2 separate regions of the Homo sapiens genome follow, and region 1 is linked to region 2. The links are contacts of gene promoters, found by promoter capture Hi-C in blood cells and fetal thymus (Javierre and others, 2016). All regions are on one chromosome and are shown on one strand. The core of a region is centred on a gene start or on the middle of the fragment in contact, and the rest is flanking DNA. Distances in the headings are between cores, read along the strand shown. Region 1 holds the start of KRABD2 (KRAB domain containing 2). Region 2 holds the start of PIK3R5 (phosphoinositide-3-kinase regulatory subunit 5).

Evidence for each region. Contacts are between HindIII fragments. The CHiCAGO score rates a contact against its expected background, and 5 or more counts as called.
Region 1: a contact is called between the fragment with the promoter of KRABD2 here and the fragment with the promoter of PIK3R5 in region 2, in 8 of 17 cell types (total CD8 T cells, total B cells, naive CD8 T cells and 5 more). The highest score is 6.6, in total CD8 T cells.

Annotation. Positions count from the first base shown.
Region 1 is chr17:8,373,981-8,378,229 of GRCh38, reverse strand. KRABD2 (KRAB domain containing 2) reads left to right here and starts at 1,526. Exons shown (of 2, transcript NM_001304947.3): 1 at 1,526-2,330. RPL26 (ribosomal protein L26) reads left to right here. Exons shown (of 4, transcript NM_000987.5): 4 at 538-714. The coding sequence ends at 666. RefSeq lists a silencer at 1,392-1,591 and an enhancer at 1,336-1,887. The HindIII fragment of the contact is 1,665 bases long and covers 1,054-2,718 here.
Region 2 is chr17:8,963,441-8,967,877 of GRCh38, reverse strand. PIK3R5 (phosphoinositide-3-kinase regulatory subunit 5) reads left to right here and starts at 2,171. Exons shown (of 19, transcript NM_001142633.3): 1 at 2,171-2,282. PIK3R5-DT (PIK3R5 divergent transcript) reads right to left here and starts at 2,031. Exons shown (of 3, transcript NR_184080.1): 1 at 1,875-2,031; 2 at 37-1,111. RefSeq lists silencers at 1,758-1,857, 1,928-2,247. The HindIII fragment of the contact is 6,543 bases long and covers 1-4,223 here.

The sequences.
Region 1 (4,249 bases), core at 277-2,776, 590 kb after region 2:
CCTCCCAGGTAGCTGGGATTACAGGCATGTGCCACCATACCCAGCTAATTTTTGTATTTTTAGTAGAGAAGGGGTTTCACCGTGTTGGCCAGACTGGTCTCAAACTCCTGACCTCAGGTGATCCGCCTGCCTCTGCCTCCCAAAGTGCTGGGATTGGGGGCATGAACCACCGCACCCAGCCTGAAGTTACTTTGGAAACAAATATATTTGTATATGACAGCTTGTAAAACTGTAGTGAGAAGAGCAGAATCATATATTTCTCAGTGAAAAAGAAACAAATCTTATAATGAAGCACAGAAGAGGCTTTAAGAATTACTGATACCATCTTGCCTTTTCTCCTTTGTTGGTAGGAAATTAGTAAATAAGCCAGGTTTGATGGCTAAAGAGTGATTTCTGGAGTTTTTTAAAAGTTAAAATCTTTTCTTATTAGGCATCCACCTACCCCAGGTTTGGGAAATGGTATTGAATGTTGGGCTTTCCCTTGTGTTTTAGTGATTATTTAAAGCTTGGGAGTGTTTTTTTCTTATTTTTCTGCAGGTGGTTATCACTAGGCTAAAACTGGACAAAGACCGCAAAAAGATCCTCGAACGGAAAGCCAAATCTCGCCAAGTAGGAAAGGAAAAGGGCAAATACAAGGAAGAAACCATTGAGAAGATGCAGGAATAAAGTAATCTTATATACAAGCTTTGATTAAAACTTGAAACAAAGAGCCTGTGTTTTGTGTGTGGTGATTTAGGACACTCCCTAGTTTTCAGTGGATCAGTCTCTTACCTCTGATTTGTTGGTCTAAAATTTTTCTGAAATCAGGACTGATGAGATTTTTTTTATAGTGGGCAGCAGCATTTGAGGATATATCAGAAGCTGGAGGGGTGTCATTGAGAAGAAGAAGGCCTACAAGAAAAGCTAGTTGGAAACACTTCCTCTTGAACCTGTCTTTTAACTTGCTTACTATGGATAGGTTGCTATATGGACAGGCTATATTTTTTACCTTACTGCGTAAAAGTTTGTATTGCCATTGGATAGGAAGTCTTGCTTTCAATAGGATAAGAAGCTTCTGTGACTTTATAGCTTCTAGATGACTTCTTCAAGCTGTTCCTCCAGATTGAGAGGTCTCGGGTTCAGGTTATCTGATAGACCCATGGGCCCCCTTTACCTTGTTTTCTGCACAAGTGCTGGATGAGTGCCATCAAACCAAAACCTAACACGTCTTTGAGTTAAAATATAAACTAAACTGCAGCTTCGTCAGGATGAAGTGAAAAGGTGTGAGGTGGCAGCAGTGTGTGTGCTCCTGCCGTTCCTCATTTTAAGCATCTAAACAGGACACCTGAAGCCCGTTTACTTTCCAGGCTGGAGACTTGGCAACAACGTGGGAATGGGGAACGGGCCCGAGTTAAGTCACTGGCTTAGCCAAGGTCACAGCTGGCATCTGGGTGAACAGCGCTGCACGGTGTCCGCGGTGCCTCTAGGGGGCGGGGCTTCCGGCTGGCGCTGACCGGCTTCCGGCGGAGCGGGCGGGAGGTGGGGCGGAGTTGCTGCTCGGGGGCCTCTGGGTGGAGGGGGATTCAGACGCCGCGTCTGGTGTGTCCCTTTCTCCTTCCTGACCTTCCTCAGTCTGCAGCTCTTTTCTCCACCGCGCGCCCGCCTCAGCCGTTCAGCCCTGAGCTGGCGGGTGGACGGGCATGGATCCAGGCGGTGGGAGCAGTCTGCGAAGTCAGGGTAGGAAGGCTACACAAAGGAGGCGACATCCCAGCCCGGTCCTCAGGAATAAGCGGGCGTGCCCGTGTGGTGTGGACGGTGAGGGGACACTGTATTAAGTGCCTTATCTGCATTATCATTGAATCTTCATAGCAATCGATTGTGATGGGTACTGGTCATCTCCCCGGGTTGTAGATGAGGAAACTGAGGCCTCAGTAACTTTGCTTTAGTCAGTAAATGATAAGAGTCAGCAAATGAATTCCCAAGCGTAGACTCGGCCGTACCGCTGCTCTACCTTGCTAATAACGACCTACCTGTAAGCGACATTTTTGACAAAATGTCCTTTAAACATCTTTTGTGCTCAGCTCTGTATTCGTGGGCCCTCCAAAGGGGGTACAGGCAGGTAGAAGCCTCCGTCCCTACCTTATAGGTTGTATATATCTGAACTGGTCGACTAAAGATGCAAAGCGAAGTGCTCCAGTGAGTGTGGTACAGGTTGTTGAGATGAAGGAGAGATGGCAATCAGCTAAAGTTACTGAATACGTCAGGAAGGAGGCTGGTTTCAGCTGGCTGTGATTGGGAGGATCAATGCGAGGACATTCCGAGTCGGAAACAGCCAAGGCGAAGACTCACAGGTGGGTGAAGGGAGTAAACATGGCTTTGGAAATATTTCCAGTTTTCTCTGACCAACTCGTTTATCACCTAGCCGTCACATAGATCACACCAAGAAGCTGATTGATTTACGGTCACATTTCTTTCATGTTGCTTTGGAAAAGATACTGAAGCCTCGGGCAACATAATGAGACCCCGTCTCTACAAAAAAAAAAAAAAAAGAAAGAAAAGAAAAAATTAGCTGGGTCTGGTGACGCATGCCTGTAGTCCCAGCTACTTGGGAGGCTGCGGTAGGAGGATGCCTTGACCCTGGGAGCCGTGATCATGCCACTGTACTCTAGCCTGGGTGACAAAGTGAGACCCTACCCTCTCAAAAAAAAAAAAAATGAAAGAAAAAAGATATTGAAAGCTTAGAAATGTGCAGGAGTGGGCAAGTAAGATGAATAGGTTAGTAGGTCCCGACGTCCTGGGCTGCGTGCAGCCCACAGGCCACAGGTTGGACAAGCTTGATCCAAAGGAAGATGCCGCCTCTCCATCACAGCCAGTTATTGCCAGGCAGCAATGCCGCCAGTGCAGCCAGAATGTTGCCTTTTCAAGAAAGCCAGAAATCGAGGCTGGGTGCAGTGGCTCACGCCTGTAATCCCAGCACTTTGGGAGGCAGAGGCGGGTGGATCACGAGGTCAGGAGATCGAGACCATCCTGGCTAACACGGTGAAACCCCATCTCTAGTAAAAATACAAAAAATTAGCTGGGCCTGGTGGCAGGTGCCTGTAGTCCCGGCCACTCGGGAGGCTGAGGCAGGAGAATGGCGTGAACCCGGGAGGCGGAGCTGGCAGTGAGCCGGGATCGCGCCACTGCACTCCAGCCTGGATGACAGAGCAAAACTCTGTCTCAAAAAAGAAAGAAATCGAGATTTATGTGAAATCTCCCAATCTGTAAATATAGGTGAAACATTGAATTTTTTTTTTTTTTTTTTTTTTTTTTTGTGACAGAGTCTGGCTCTGTCGCCCAGGCTGGAGTGCGGAGGCACGATCTCGGCTCACTGCAAGCTCCACCTCCCGGGTTCATGTCATCCTCCTGCCTCAGCCTCCTGGGACTACAGGCGCTCGCCACCATGCCCAGCTAATTTTTTGTATTTTTGGTAGAGACGGGGTTTCCTCGTGTTAGCCAGGATGGTCTCGATCTCCTGACCTTGTAATCCGCCCACCTCCGCCTCCTAAAGTGCTGGGGTTACAGGTGTGAGCCCCCACGCCCGGCCGAATCATTCAATTTTTTTTTTTTTTTTTTTTTTTTTAGTATTTATTGATCATTCTTGGGTGTTTCTCAGAGAGGGGGATTTGGCACGGTCATAGGACAATAGTGGAGGGAAGGTCAGCAGATAAACATGTGAACAAGGGTCTCTGGTTTTCCTAGGCAGAGGACCCTGCGGCCTTCCGCAGTGTTTGTGTCCCTGGGTACTTGAGATTAGGGAGTGGTGATGACTCTTAGCGAGCATGCTGCCTTCAAGCATCTGTTTAACAAAGCACATCTTGCACTGCCCTTAATCCATTTAACCCTGAGTGGACACAGCACATGTTTCAGAGAGCACGGGGTTGGGGGTAAGGTTATAGATTAATAGCATCCCAAGGCAGAAGAATTTTTCTTAGTATAGAACAAAATGGAGTCTCCTATGTCTACTTCTTTCTACACAGACACAGTAACAATCTGATTTCTCTTTCTTTTCCCCACATTTCCCCCTTTTCTATTCGACACAACCGCCATCGTCACCATGGCCCGTCCTCAATGAGCTGTTGGGTACACCTCCCAGACGGGGTGGCGGCCCGGCAGAGGGGCCCCTCACTTCCCAGACGGGGCGGCCGGCCGGGCGGGGGCTGCCCCCCACCTCCCTCCCGGACGGGGCGGCTGGCCAGGCAGGGGCTGCCCCCCACCTCCTGGATGGGGC
Region 2 (4,437 bases), core at 922-3,421:
GTACATAATCAGATGCTTAATGAGTGACAGAGGTACCTTTCAGAGTTTTTCCAGCAGCTTTGGGGAGGTGGGAAATGGAGAATGGATAGGTGTCAGGTGCTGATCAGATCTGTGACAGGGAGACGCAGACAGAACTCAGTGTTGACGGCGTGGCATAACATGCAGGCTCCACATCTGGGCCACAGCTGTAGGTGGAGAGGAGAATGCCTACTTCTGAGGGGATGTACGATGGGACCAAGTTGGCTTCTTGGGATGCTCAGAGCCCTAGGAGTGAGCACCAATGAGCCACTCTTTTGCAGTTTTCCTCCATTTTCAGAAGGCAGGCATCCCATAATTTCTCTGGCAGATTATTTGCCTTTCCAAGTGCTCTCCTAATCCAACATTTCCATCTGGCACACAGTGTCATTCTTGCTCCTGAATTCCTGATTCCAGAGCATTTCTGCCATTTTCTTCCTTTGCACAGTGTGTACCTTCCCTCTTCTCCTCTTCTTCCAAATGTCCATATTTTTGTGGTGGAAAAAGTGGGGACAGGGGAGACAGAAGACTGGAATCCTTATCAAGTCCTCTCTCAGCCCTTGGTGGCTCTGGTTCCTTCTCTGTGAAAGGGTGACGTGTGGGGAAGGGGTTGGGGATGAGGTAGGAGAGGGGGTCTGAGTTCCTTCCCACGTCTAACGATGGCTGGAACCAGGCCTCTGTGTTCAACCAAGGGTACTTTCTGTTTCTGTCCATTTGGGGAAGTTGCTTTTTCTTGGTATTTCGGGAGTCAGGAAAAGAAAAGTCATTGGTGTTCATATCTCTCAAAGCCTCAGGTAGGGCTGCGGCTTTTGACCAACAATAACGTATGACCATGACCTTGTGGCCGAGTTTGCACGCCTCTAACAGATATTATGACACAGTTCCATTCAATAGTGGAAGTGGAGATTTCAGCGTTGCCCTTTGTTAACCCACAAATGAAGTGCTACTCTTCCATTGTGAGGGCTGTCGGAGCAGTAGCCAACCTTCTTATCCCCATTTTTTAAACGAGGGAAAGGAGGCATAGGAAGCGCAGTGTCTTGTGGGATTCCCTGGGGAGTCCTTCCAACTCTTGGTAGAGCATCATCTGCAACGTCGTCTGGGGGAGAAAAGGGGGAGGCAAGAAGAGGGCCTTGACCCTGGAGGCAGGAACTCCCGCACACCCTCACTCCCTTCCCCAGGGGCTGGGGAAACCACTCAGGTGACAGTAGCCTTGGTGCCGGCCAGGGAGGGCGGGAAGTCCAGCCAGAGGCTGGAACAGCAGTGCTGAACGCCGGGACTGGCTGGTATTTCTATGAAGGTTCCTGCAGAAGGATGCGGGTCAAGGTGCCCGTCTGCACAGCAGTAGTGCAGGCATTTTAAGGGTTAAGGGCACCCAAAGAAAATAGAAGTAGGGGCCGGGCGCAGTGGCTCACGCCTGTAATCCCAGCACTTTGGGAAGCCGAGGCGGGCGGATCACGAGGTCAAGAGATCGAGACCATCCTGGCCAACATGGTGAAACCCCGTCTCTAGTAAAAATACAAAAAATTGGGCGTGGTGGCGCGCGCCTGTAGTCCCAGCTACCCGGGAGGCTGAGGCAGGAGAATCGCTTGAACCCGGGAGGCGGAGGTTGTGGGGAGTCAAGATCGTGCCACTGCACTCCAGCCTGGCGACAGAGCGAGACTCCATCTCAAAAAAAAAAAAAAAAAAAAGAAAGAAAATAGAAGTAGGAAGAGGAAGTGGGTCGCAGTGAGAGAAGGAAGCAGCTCGTCGGAGCTTCCTCTTTCTCGTCTTTCCCCTAAGCCCCTACCCCAGACCTGCCCCCCTGCTCCGCCCAGCCCTCCTGCGGGGCCAAAGCCGCGCTTCCGACGCGGGGGCCTAACCTCCCCTTACTCCTTGGGGGTCGCTGGTGCTCCGCGCTGGTGCCCCTCGGGCCACTGCCATGGACCGGCCAGGGTCTGCTTCTTCCGAGGGCTGGCGGGTCAGAGCCGGGGCTGCTTCTCAGACGCCTTGCGGCCTCGGGGGCGTGACCCAGAGGATGTGGGGCCGGGCGCGCACCTGGCTGACGCTGCCGGGCCGCCAGGTGGCTGGAGAGGCCGGCTCCGCGGTCAGCCCCGCCCCATTAGGCCCCGCCCCCTGACAGGCTCCGCCCCGCCCGCCGGAGGAGCCCAGGCTGGGCAGATGCTGCGGCTCGCCGCGCGGCTCCAGCTGGGGCGCGGTGGTCCCGACGGTCACCCGAATCGCAGGGAGTCGCCGCTGGAGAGGGGCTCGGCGCCCGGCGGGGACTGCAGGTGTGTGACTGGGCGGCCAGGGCGGATGCGGAGGGCACGCATGGGAGCTCCAGGCAGAGCTGGAGCAAGCTGGGGACCGTCGGGGAGAGTGGGCTCCGCGAGCAGCCGCCGCAGCCCGAGGGCTGGACAGATCCTGCTATCTTCCGGCCCCGTGGACCTGGCCCACCGCGGGGGCAGCGGGTCTGCAAACCTGCGCTCCAGATAACCCCAGAGACTTAAGGGGCGTCGCGGGGACCACTTATCGTTATCCGGGTAACCTCTGCTGGGCGGCTCTGCGCAGCTGTGTCCTCAGCCTCCTGCCTCTGACACAGGACGCCCTGTGTCGTAGGGTCAGGTCCCCTGCCCGCTCCAGCGGGGAACTGTCCGTGAGCGTGGGCATCAGGGCTCTTGTGCCGTCAGAACCTGGGAGTCATGGAAGTGCCCGCGTAAGGCGCCCTCCGTCGAGCCTCACTCAGCCTGCTAGTTAGCCAGCCTTGGGCCCAGACGCGGCTGCTGTCCTAGAGAACTGCACGCTTTCTGCTCTCAGAGGATCTGTGTTTACACACTGGACATCCCCGCGTGACTCGTGTGTGTGTGTGTGTGTGTGTGTGTGTGGGCATGCGCATGTGCGCGTGCTGGCCCATCCCGGCCTGGGGTAAATACACAAAAAGTTCAGGTCAGTAGGAGGAAGGAGATTGTTCAGAAGGAAAAGGAAGGCGAGGTTAAAGCAGCAGGATGTGGTATAAAGCGAGTTAACAAGACTCGGAGTAGAGAGGAGGGGTGGGTTTAGGCAGAATAAGGGCTAAAAGTAGGCCAAGCCTGCCTCCAAGGTCCTCTCTGGACTGACACCCTCGTTTTCCTTCTGTGTCTTCTCATCCACCCCACACTTTCCTTCCTGCCCTCAGGACCACCTGTAAGGCACTGGCTCCCAGAGCTGACTGCAGGTAGGGCTCTCTTGGAGCCAACCCTACAACGTGGCTTTCCAGGGATGGGATCTGGAATCTGTAGTTTTCAAAACTTTGAATGAGCTCCTTAAGTGATGATGCTGAAGCCGTTGCTTGGGAACCATGCATGATGTGGAAAAGAGACCCAAGTTCCAACCGGATCCAGCTGTGTGACCTGCAGCATCACACTGTCCCCCAACCCAGCCTCAGTCTCCTGATTCATAAAATGGGCTGTCATACTGACCCATAGAGCTGTGTGGAATTATTATTATTATTATTATTGAGACAGGGTCTTGCTCTGTCACTCAGGCTGGAGTGCAGTGGCGTGATCATGGCTCACTGCAGCCTTAAATTCCCAGGCTCAAGCAATCCTCCGCCTCCGCCTCCCAAGTAGCTGGGATTACAGGTCAGCACCACGGCGCCCAGCTAATTTTTGTATTTTTTGTAGAGGCAGGGTTTTGCCATGTTGCCCAGGTTGGTCCCAAATTCCTTGAGCTCAAGCGATCCGTCTACCTTGGCCTTCCAAAGTGCTGGGATTATAGACATGAGCCACTGTGCCTGGCCCAGTGTGGAAAATTAAGTGAGGCATGTATGATGAGAACGGCTGCACGTGGGAGATGCTCCGTGGATGTTTGTAGAACGCTGGCTTCCGTGTTTCCTCGTTGTGGCTGTGGTGGTGTGGGTCTTTGCCTGTGGACCCGTGGAAGACAAAGAAGACAGTTTTGGATGGTCAAGCTACTTTCTTGCTTCAGGGCTCCCTCCCCTGCTTTTTGAAGCCTCACAAACCAGGACTGTGAGGGCAGGAAGGCTTGGGGTCTTTGTGTGCTGAGCCTCATTAGGGTTTTAAGAACCTCCCTCCTTTCATCTCTAGCTTACGAGAGGGATGATTCATTATCTTCCCTCCTCAGGCTGCAGTAGAAGCAGACAGTCTCTGCCTCCCTGCTTGCCTTTCCTCCCTCCCATTCACTGTTGATTATTGCCCTCAAGAATAACAGGTTGCCCAGCTACTCGAGAAGCTTAAGTGGGAGGATTGCTTGACCCCAGGAGTTCGAGGCTGCAGTGAGCTATGATCGCTTCACTGCGCTATAGCCTGGCAGACACAGAGAGACCCTATCTCAAGCAAACAGACAAACAAAAAAAAAAAAAGAAGAAGAAGAAGAAGAATAGGTTGGATGCTAACTGGTGGCACTGGGTGACAAGAGCATTTGGGGTTGATGTTGGCATGAGGATGA